Regions from separate parts of the Homo sapiens genome. Here region 2 is linked to region 1. The links are contacts of gene promoters, found by promoter capture Hi-C in human tissues and cell types (Jung and others, 2019). All regions are on one chromosome and are shown on one strand. The core of a region is centred on a gene start or on the middle of the fragment in contact, and the rest is flanking DNA. Distances in the headings are between cores, read along the strand shown.

Evidence for each region. Contacts are between HindIII fragments. The study calls those that stand out against the background at their distance.
Region 2: a contact is called between a fragment that was not itself captured here and the fragment with the promoter of GP1BA in region 1, in 1 of the 25 tissues and cell types used here (dorsolateral prefrontal cortex).

What each region holds. Positions count from the first base shown.
Region 1 is chr17:4,929,719-4,934,883 of GRCh38, reverse strand. GP1BA (glycoprotein Ib platelet subunit alpha) reads right to left here and starts at 2,607. Exons shown (of 2, transcript NM_000173.7): 1 at 2,519-2,607; 2 at 1-2,285. The coding sequence starts at 2,279. The coding sequence ends at 321. RefSeq lists an enhancer at 342-561. The HindIII fragment of the contact is 8,753 bases long and covers 1-2,626 here.
Region 2 is chr17:4,517,210-4,522,374 of GRCh38, reverse strand. The region is part of intron 2 of SPNS2 (SPNS lysolipid transporter 2, sphingosine-1-phosphate); the gene reads right to left. Among named protein-coding and RNA genes, the nearest start is that of SPNS2, 21 kb to the right of the region's middle. The HindIII fragment of the contact is 4,831 bases long and covers 551-5,165 here.

The DNA of each region.
Region 1 (5,165 bases), core at 1,358-3,857:
TTCCAGATTTTCTTCTGTGCATAGATGCATGTGGGAACCATGCTGTATTCTGCCAAAATGGTTCACCGTGAGATCTGGCAGCGCCCCATGCAGCATCGGGAGCTTTGTCTTGTCCCCCCGCCAAGTCCATGTCATTACCCCTTCTGCTTTGGCTGGGACTGAAATTGTGTGCCTGTGTTGTGAAGACAGGGCTTCTGATACAGAAAAAGGAACTAAGACCCCTCCCTATCACCCTGTGTTCCTTACCCCTCCAACCCCCAACTAGATTCCAATAGGAGAGCCCACAGGCTCTTCTCTCAAGGTCCCCAAACCTCCCACCCTCAGAGGCTGTGGCCAGAGTACCTAATGCTCACTGTGCTCAGCAGGTCCTGACCACGACCCTGACTCAGAGCTGAGGGCCTCCTTCCTGCCACTAGAGGCCCCACACGGCCATTAGGCCGTACCCACAGGAAGAGGCTGGAGCGGAAAGTGGGAAGCGAACCTCGAAGGAAGAGCAGCCAGGCCCGGGGCACTGTCACTTGCCGTCCCCTCTGCAGCTCCAGGTGTGTGGTTTGTGTGGCTGTGGTCAGAGCAGCACCTTGGCCAGAGTCCAGGGCCTGTGGTTTCACATGCCCAACCCAGCTCAGCAGCAGGATGAGGACCACAGAGGCAAAGAGCAGCCAGAAGAGACCCAAGACATAGAAGCCCAGGGGGAGGAGGCAGCAAAAGTCGGGGTGGAGAAAAGGGTCATTTCTGGAGCTCTCCAAATGCCCTTGGAGCACCCCACGGAGCTTTGGTGGCTGATCAAGTTCAGGGATGGTTTTTTTGGTGGATTCTAAGAGTGATACGGGTTTTGTGGTAGTTAAAAATGTGCTTTTTGGAGTGATCAGGCTTGTGGCAGACACCAGGATGGTCGGGCTTGTGGCGATGGTCGGGATTGGGGTGGGCTCCGGGGTGGTCGGGCTGGGGGCGGGCTCTGAGGTGGGCTCTGGGGTGGTCGGGCTGGGGGCGGGCTCTGAGGTGGGCTCCGGGGTGGTCGGGCTGGGGGCGGGCTCTGAGGTGGGCTCTGGGGTGGTCGGGCTTGGAGTGGGCTCCAGGGTGGTCATGTTTGGGGCGGGCTCCGGGACGGGCTCTGAGGTGGTCGGGCTTGGGGTTGGTTCAGTAGTGGATTTTGGAGTTTTGGAGAATGTGATGGATTCCATGTGAAGTGTGAAATTTGGGGTCCATCTAGGTGGGAATGTGGTCTGCTCCTTAGTGGATTCTTGTGTTGGATGCAAGGAGGAGGGCATTTGGCTGTCTAGAGAAGCAGTGGACCATGAGTAGAATAGACCCCAGGGGGTTGTATGGGCTTTGGTGGGGAACTTGACCACAGTCCTTGTGGCACGCACCTTATCGCCCTCAGTGTCCTCTTCTGGGTAGTAATCATATAGGTCTGTGTCACCTTCATCACCAAGGGTGGGGCACCCCTTTCCTGGGTATTTGTAGACGGGAAACTTGTCTGAATTGTCACACTGCACACTGGCCACGTTAGAGGTCATGGCCTTGACGTCCACACCTTGCTTCCATACGTAGACATTTTCAGCATTGTCCTGCAGCCAGCGACGAAAATAGAGGATCTCACAGTTGCATAACCAGGGGTTCCCGTGGAGAAAAGCAAAAGGCAGGAGGTGGGACCCAAAAAAGCCCTTTGGTATTGTATACAGCGAGTTCTCTTGGAGGAGAAGGGTGTCGAGATTCTCCAGCCCATTCAGGAGCCCAGCGGGGAGCTCAGTCAAGTTGTTGTTAGCCAGACTGAGCTTCTCCAGCTTGGGTGTGGGCGTCAGGAGCCCTGGGGGCAGGGTCTTCAGCTCATTGCCTTTCAGGTAGAGCTCTTGGAGTTCGCCAAGACCACGCAGGGCACCAAGAGGCAGCGAGGTCAGCCGGTTGAAGGAGACGTCCAGGACGGTGAGAGCAGGCAGTGTCTGCCCTAGCAAGGGCAGGCTTTGCAGCTGATTGTGGGATAGATCCAGGGTCCCCAGCACTGGCAGCGTCCCATCGACCTGGAGCTTGGTGAGCTCGCACCTATCTAGGTTCAGCTGAGTGAGGCGAGTGTAAGGCATCAGGGTTGCCAGGGAGAAGGTGTACAGGAGGTTCTCACTCAGGTGGAGGATGGTTGTGTCTTTCGGCAGGTCTGGAGGCAGCGCTGTCAGATTCCTCTTGTCACAGTTCACTTCTAGGTGGCTGGCCACTTTGGAGACCTCACAGATGGGGTGGGGGTGTAAGGGGCTTGGCAGCAGGAGCAGCAAGAGGAGGAGAGGCATGAGGACCTGTGGGCAAGGGAGCCTTGAGTGGATCCCCCTGCATCCCCTGGAAGCATCCCCCCAGGCCCCAGCCCCCTTCCCCCTGCAGCTTCGCTTCCAGAAACAGCATCCACACCTCCTGTCCTCCCTACTCCCATCTCCCACCCTTGCCTGCAGAACTTAAAACTACTAGCTCCAGGTCCTTGGCTCTTTCCCCTCCCTCAGACCCCTCTCCTGCCCCAGCACCAACCCCGGCTTACAGGCAGGCAGAAAGACCTCCGAAGGCACAGAGCGTCTTCTAGGGTGCCACTCGACTCCGTCCTTCTCTCTTCTAGCCCCATGGAGGACTAAGCCAGTGGCAAGGAAGGGGATGGGGGTGAGGAGGAAATGCAGGCCTGATAGGGATTCCAGTGACCGGGAATCCCCTGGACACAAGCCCTTATCGCCTCACTCCACGGCTTTCCCCCAGGCCCTCTTTGTGGTTCTCTCTTCCGCTTTCCTTTTACACAGGGGAGATGGGGGTGGACTCCTCCAAACAGCCTTCTGCCATCTTTTAAAAACCTCTCCAGGGCCGGGCGCGTGGCTCATGCCTGTAATCCCAGAACTTTGGGAGGCTGAGGCGGGCGGATCACCTGAAGTCAGGAGTTCGAGACCAGCCTGACCAACACGGGGAAACCCTGTCTCTACTAAAAATACATTAGCCAGGCGTGGTGGCGCATGCCTGTAATCCCAGCTACTCGGGAGGCTGAGGCAGGAGAATCGCTTGAAACCGGGAGGTGGAAAGAGGTTGCGGTGAGCCGAGATCGTGCCATTGTACTCCAGCCTGGGTGACAAGAGCAAAACTCCATCTTAAAAACAAAAAAACCTCTCCAGATGCCCGCTTCTCTTCCTCTTCACAGCTGCATTCTGAGAGTTGCCTACTTTTAATTCTCTCCCACCTTTCTCTCTGCCTTCTCACCCCAGTCTATGCTGATTTCTTTCCCCTGCTACTCCATTGACTCGGTTCTTACCAAGGTCTTTAATGCTCTCCCTCCTCTACATCCATGGGAAACTTCTCCACTGTGATCTTACTTTATTTCGGCAGCCTGCATACCCATGGCCACTCGCCCCTTGGGATTCTCCTTTTGGCCTCTGTGACACATGACCCTGTAATTTTCTTGGTTTTCTTCTTACCTGTTTGGTTGGGCCTTCTCAGTCTCCTTCATAGATTCCCCTTCTTGAACAATTAAACTGCCCCCAGAGTTTGTGCTTAGGCTGTCTTCATTCCCAGCTAATTTTTATATTTTTAGTAGAGACGGGGTTTCACCATGTTGGTCAGCCTGGTCTCGAACTCCTCATCTCAAGTGATCCACCCACATTGGCTTCCCGAAGTGCTGGGATTAGAGGCATGAGCCACCGCGCCCGGCATTCTCTTCTTTTCTTACGCTATGCAACCACCTGAGATTATCCTCATCCATTCCCTTGCCTTCAACCACCACCTACAACCTAATGACTCTCAAATCTATGTCTCTAGTCCAGACCCTTCTCCTGAGACACAAGCACATATGTCCAGCTGCCTTCTGGACATCTCTACTTGGATGTCCCACAGACACCAAAACAATATGTTCAAAGCTGAACTCACCATCTCTCTCCAAATGGCTTCTCCTCCTGTGTTGCTCAGCCTGGTGAGTGGCACCATCATCCACTCATTTACCTAACCATTCAGTCAACACAAACAAAATCCCTAATAGTCATCTCTAACGTCTCCCGTCTTTCATCCCCATCACCAAGTCCTGGTGATTTTATCTCCCGTCTCTCTCAAATCTACTCTCCATCCACACCATCCTGCCAGCATTCCTAGTCCAAGGTTGTTGTTGTTTCTTGTTCATATCCTCCTCCTCCTCTTCTTCTTCCTCCTCTTCCTCCTTTCTTCTTCTTCTTCTTTTTTTTTTTTTTTTTTTTTGAGATGGAGTCTTGCCCTGTCTCCCAGGCTGGAGTGCAATGGCTCCATCTCGGCTCACTGCCACCTCTGCCTCCTGGGTTCAAGCAATTCTCCTGCCTCAGCCTCCTGAGTAGCTGGGATTACAGGCACCCGCCATCATGCCCGGCTAATTTTTCATATCTTTAGTAGAGACGGGGTTTTACCATGTTGTCCAGGCTGGTCTCCTTTGCTCTGTCTCCCAGGCTGGAGTGCAGTGGCGCAATCATGCCTCACTCAAGGACAAACTCCTGGACCCAAGGGATCCTCCTGCTTCAGCCTCCCAAGGAGTTGGGACTACAGGCATGCACCACCACACCTGGCTGATTTAAAAATTTTTTTCTAGAGACAGAAAAACATTTGTTTGTTGCCTAGGCTGGTCTCAAACTCCTGGGCTCAAGCGATCCTCCCACCTCGGCCTCCCAAAGTGCTAGGAGTACAGGCGTGAGCCACCATGCCCTGCCCAGGGCACCATCTTCTCGCTACTGCTTCCCTGCAACAGCCTCCTTGCTGGTCTCCCAACTTCCCAATTCCCTTTCTTCTCTTTATTCTCCACTGGAGTGGTCTTTCAGAACTGCACATTTGCTCATATCCTTCCACTGCTTGAAATCCACCAATGGGCCAGGCACAGTGGCTCACACCTGTAATCCTAGCAGTTTGGGAGGCCGAGGCGGGTGGATCACCTGAGGTCAGGGGTTTGAGACCAGCCTGGCCAACATGGTGAAAACCCATCTCTACTAAATATACAAAAAATTAGCCAGACGTGGTGGCCGGCACCTGTAATCCCAGCTACTAGGGAGGCTGAGGCAGGAGAACAGCTTGAGCCCCAGGGGGCATAGGTTGCAGTGAGCTGAGATCACACCCCCTCACTCCAGCCTGGGCGAAAGAGCGAAATTCTGTCTCTAAATAAATAAATAAATTCACCAATGGCTCCTCATAGATCTCAGGAG
Region 2 (5,165 bases), core at 1,717-4,216, 410 kb after region 1:
TGAGGCACACTCCCTGGGCTCAAATTCACCTCCGCTCCTTCCCAGCCGGTGACCTCAGTCAGGCCACAGCCATTCTGTGTCTCACCTTCAGTGGTGTGCTGATATATGTTTAACTGGCTCTGATAAAGGGTGAGGGGAGCCCTGATGTGGCGTGTTTGCTCATTTCTTTTTTTTCTGAGATGGAGTTTCGCTCTGTCGCCCAGGCTGGAGTGCAGTGGCACCGTCTCAGCTCACTGCAATCTCTGCCTCCCGGGTTCAAGCGATTCTCTTGCCTCGGCCTCCCAAGTAGCTGGGATTATAGGCATCTGCCACCACGCCCGGCTAATTTTTGAATGTTTAGTAGAGACAAGGTTTTGCCATGTTGGCCAGGCTGGTCTCAAACACCTGATCTCAGGTGATCCTCCTGCCTCGGCCTCCCAAAGTGCTGGGATTACAGGGGTGAGCCACCGTGCCCGGCCGTGTTTGCCCATTTCTGTGGTGTAAACACTCCGCCCTGGCTGAGTTCAAGCTACCCACGTCGTGTCACTGATGGGCGTTGGAAAGGGATGTGCGGGGACACGCCATTGTCCAGTGTTTCTACCACACAAATAGAACAGACGCCACTCACCATAGGACCACAGATAACGCTGAAACACAGCAAAATAATTAGGAAGTGAGGACTTTTGAGTAGTTATTACCTTGTTTCTAATTATTTAATTGTAAGCCGATATCATTTAGTTTTTAACAATGGTTGTATTTTACGACTAGCTCACACACCATTCCTGAAATGTTAACAATTGACTCTCATGAGCTGGCCTGAGCCAGCGCCAACATGCCAGCATCCTCATCTGTAAAATGAAGATAAAAATAGCAGCTCTCCAGGGTGGGTCTGGGTGCTGGATAGCACGTGCAAGGTGCTTAATGCCACACCCTGCCCAGAGCAGGCCGGCCTTGGTCAACACTGGGCCCTTGTTTAAATTAGTCAAGGCAGAAATTATTTCCTCACATTTAGAAAAAGAATTTTTCCTGCTGGGCCTGCCTCCAAGGACCTGCCTGAGATCAGATCAGAATGTGGCAGGAGGGAGATTTCCAGTTGCATCAGGACTGACACATGTTGGGGGAGGAGGAGGAATTGTTCTCCCTGTGCCTGTCTGTGCTAGGTGGCAAGTGGACAGAAGGAATCAGAAGAGAAGTTTCCCCCTGTCTGGCCAGGGGCAGATCTTGTTCATAGGTTGCTCTGTTTAAAGGACAACCTATGTTGGGGAACCACCAAGGAGCTCCAGATCCTGCCAGGATAATGAAGAGAGGCTTCCCGGAGGCGGTGGTGACAAAGCTGGGCACTGAAGCATGCATAGGAGTTTACCGCTAAGATAATACTTAACATCAAGAATATACGCTGAAATATAAACTTCAGATCAGCAATATTGTATAATGGTTCACGAGGCATGATGCTTAGTGTTCATGATAACTGCAGTTATTATTTATGGATATATAGGCAAGGCCCAGCATGCAGCCTTGACATATGCACAGATGATCTCTTTTGATTCTGTTCTCTTCATTTTACAGAGGAGACAATGGAGGCCAAAAGAAGTGATGTCACACAGCGAGTGTGCGGCTGAGCCAGAATTTAAATCCCAGTTTGGCAGACTCCAGAGTCCTTGCTCTAAATCACTCCCCAGACTGCCATGCTGGGAAGGGGGAAGGTCCCAGCTGATGTTCCCAAGGTCAGGGAAAGTTCAGGGCCTGCTGAGGACAGCAAGGAGACAGGTCAGGCCATGGCCTGAGGATGCTCAAGAGGAAGCAGCGAGAGATGAGGCTGTGGAGGGAGGACTGGGCTAAAGACCAGGACAGGGTTTGGTGTTTAGAAGGCGGCAGAGAACCACAGCGCGCTCTCTCCACCCCGCCCCCCAACACCATGGTAGGATCCTTGAAAAAGCCCCCTCCCGGGGGGGTGACGAGGGACTGGAGGGACGTGACCCAGACCTTCGCCAGACCCCGGCCATCATGCTCCATTCTCTCCTCTTGCCCACAGTGGAGCAGGAAGCACGGGCCCTTCTTAGCTCTTTCAACCCCTCCCTGGTTTCTGGCTCCTCACTTAGATGGGCAGAAGTCCCCAGGACTGCAGGTGGACTCCTGGCAGAAGCTGGCACGCCCCGTCCCCACCCACCGGCCCCAGCCTGATGAACTTGCCCAAGCACCTACGTGCCCTTAGCTCACCTGATCCTCCCCACGTCCATCCCTATCTAACAGCTGAGGTCACTGAGGCCCCAAGAGGTGGAGGAAGTTGCCCGAGATGACAGACCAAATTAGGAAGGCACAGTCTGGACCAGCCTGCCCCTCAGTGTCTTCCCTTGGGACATGGCAGTCCAGGGTCAGGAGGGAGGTGGGATCCATCACTGCTGCCCTCTCTCTGCTCAGGACAGACAGGAGGGAGGACCCCGCCTGGCCCCCTGGAGGTCACAGGCCATGGAGGGGCCTGAACACAATCAGGGTAGGGACGGGGAGGGGGCTGAGAGAATGTTCCTGGCAGAAGGGACAGGATAGGCGAAGCCTTGCCCATGTGGACTGTGTCCGATGGGGACACAGAGGCCAGCAGGCAACTCTGCTGAGAATAAAGACCAGCCTGGGCTGGGCCTCCAAGCTAGAAGCTTCCCCTGCCCACCACCCCGCAATCCCGTGGTCTTTGTTTGTTTGAGGAGAGCTTTCTGGGCAGACTGGCAGCCCCACCCCTGGTTTTGGTAGGGGCGGCTTTCCCAGCAGTTCCCGCAGGGACATCCTGTGGAGGGTGTGCTGAGCCCACAGGTCTAGGACAATGGAGAGGCAGGGCAGGGAGCCAGGGCCGAGCGGGCAGGGCCGTGACAGCAGGGAGGGAGGGGTCAGACCAGCCCGCCTGCCTCGGGGTCTTGGGCCAGGGCCTCACTCCCTCCTCCTCGCCAGGCTGGCAGGAGGCCGTCAGAAAGCCAGTGCTGTCCACCTCTCACGGCAGCCCAGAGCTCAGAACCCCCACGGGCCCTCGGTGTCCTGGTGGGCAGCCCCAGGACCCCTGTCCATGGTGAGCGGAGCCATCCCCATGGCACACATGGCCTGTATGACCCCAGAAAGCAGTTTTGGAGCAGGAAAGGGCAAGTCTGAGCTTGAGGGAGCCCTGAGCCCCCGCCCTGTGGCCTTGGAGCCTGCATTCAGCCCTTGCTTCGGCCTGGGCTGAGCCACGGCTATTTTTACATGGCTGATCTGTTATTTGGAGAAGACCTACCATCCTCCACATCCTGTGGGCAGGGAGGGTGCTCAGGCAGGCATGGGTGGGGCGGGGGCCAGGCTCTGCCATCCAAGGGACGGCCTGGGCTGGCCAAGCTGACGGAGAATGCTCAGGACAGATGGCCCCATCAGCGCCTGAAAGCTCACCACGCTCAGACTTCCCGGTGGAAGGACGGGAACACCTGCTCTGTGATCCCCTACTCAGGATGTAAACCTTGTGTTGGGCTCTCAGGCCTCAGGGTGAATGAGGTTTTGGGGCCACTCCTTGAAAAGGAGGGCTTTGGGGAACAGCCGCAGGGGCTGCCCGGCTGTGCCTTCAGAACCCAAGTCTGCTGAAGCAGGAGTCGCTGGGCTGGCCAAAGACGGGAGGGGAGAACAGGCAGAAGGAGACTTACCCCCAAAACAGAGGCACTGTCTGGTTTCGGTTTGAGCTGGCTCTTCCTCTGTCCCCACTCTCCCTCCGTTCCCCCATCCCCATCCTGGCACTTCCTCGTGAGCCTACAAACCCCGGCCCTGAGTAGCCTTCAGCTTCCTCTGCTGCCCCTTCCCACACTTGGTCCCAGAATGAATATCCTGAGACACACATCTTTTTTGTTTGTTTGTTTTTGTTTTGTTTTTGAGACGGAGTCTCGCTCTGTCGCCCAGGCTGGAGTGCAGTGGCGCGATCTCGGCTCACTGCAAGCTCCGCCTCCTGGGTTCATGCCATTCCCCTGCCTCAGTCTCCCGAGTAGCGGGATTACAGGCACCCGCCACCACACCCGGCTAATTTTTTGTATTTTTAGCAGAGACGGGGTTTCACCATGTTAGCCAGGATGGTCTCGATCTCCTGACCTCGTGATCCACCCGCCTCAGCCTCCCAAAGTGCTGGGATTACAGGCGTGAGCCACCGCGCCCGGCCCGAGACACACATTTTACACGGACTGCCCTGTTCCAAAACCTTCTCTGGCTCCCTACTGCCCCAAGACAAAACCTACATGCCTTATCTTGGCCTTCAAGCCTTTCACACTCAGACCCTGCCCACTGTCCAGCCTCTTCTCCTTCTGTTCTCCCCATACGCCAACCCATGGCCAATGGGCCACAGGCCACTCGAGTCAGGCAGTGCCACAAACAGCCTTCGTTCTCCCTCACCCTTCCCTGTGTTGCATTGACGCTGATTTCCTCAGATCTAGCTTCTAATTCACTTTTCTTTTCAACTAGGTGTAGTCTACTCATTAACTCACCTAATTATTCCATTTTTTATTTTAATACATATTTTTCACTTCTGGTATTTTCGAATATTAGTCTTTTAAACATTTTCCGGTTCTCTTTTCATAATGTTCTGTTCTTGTCTTACAAGTCCTATCCTTTCCTTTAGAGCTTTGAATATTAAACACACCTAATTTTAAAGTCCCTTTGTGACGAATCTGTTTTCCCATCTTCAGGGTCAGCTGACTCCCTCTCAAAAAAATGAGGGAGAACTGTATGCTCTATTAATTTTTTTTTTTGAGACGGAGTCTTGGTCTTGTTACCCAGGCTGGAGTGCAGTGGTGTGATCTTGGCTCACTGCAACCTCCACCTCTTGGGTTCAAGCGATTCTCCTGCCTCAGCCTCCTGAGTAGCTGAGATTACAGGCGCCCACACCATGCCCAGCTAATTTATGTATTTTAGTAGAGATGGGGTTCACCATGTTGGTTCAGGCTGGTCTCAAACTGCTGACCTCGGGTGATCCACCCGCCTCAGCCTCCCAAAGTGCTGGGATTACAGGTGTGAGCCACCGCGCCTGGCCTGCTCTATTAATTTTGAATTTGAGTTTGTCTTCAGTGGAAATTGTCCCGTGTCCCATGCAGGCTCTGGGTCATGAAGAATTCCCTAAGGAATGGTTTGGGATTTGCTTCTGCCAGGGTCCCTGGAAACAGAGGGGGCCTCTATGGGGAAGGAAGTGGAAGCCCCAG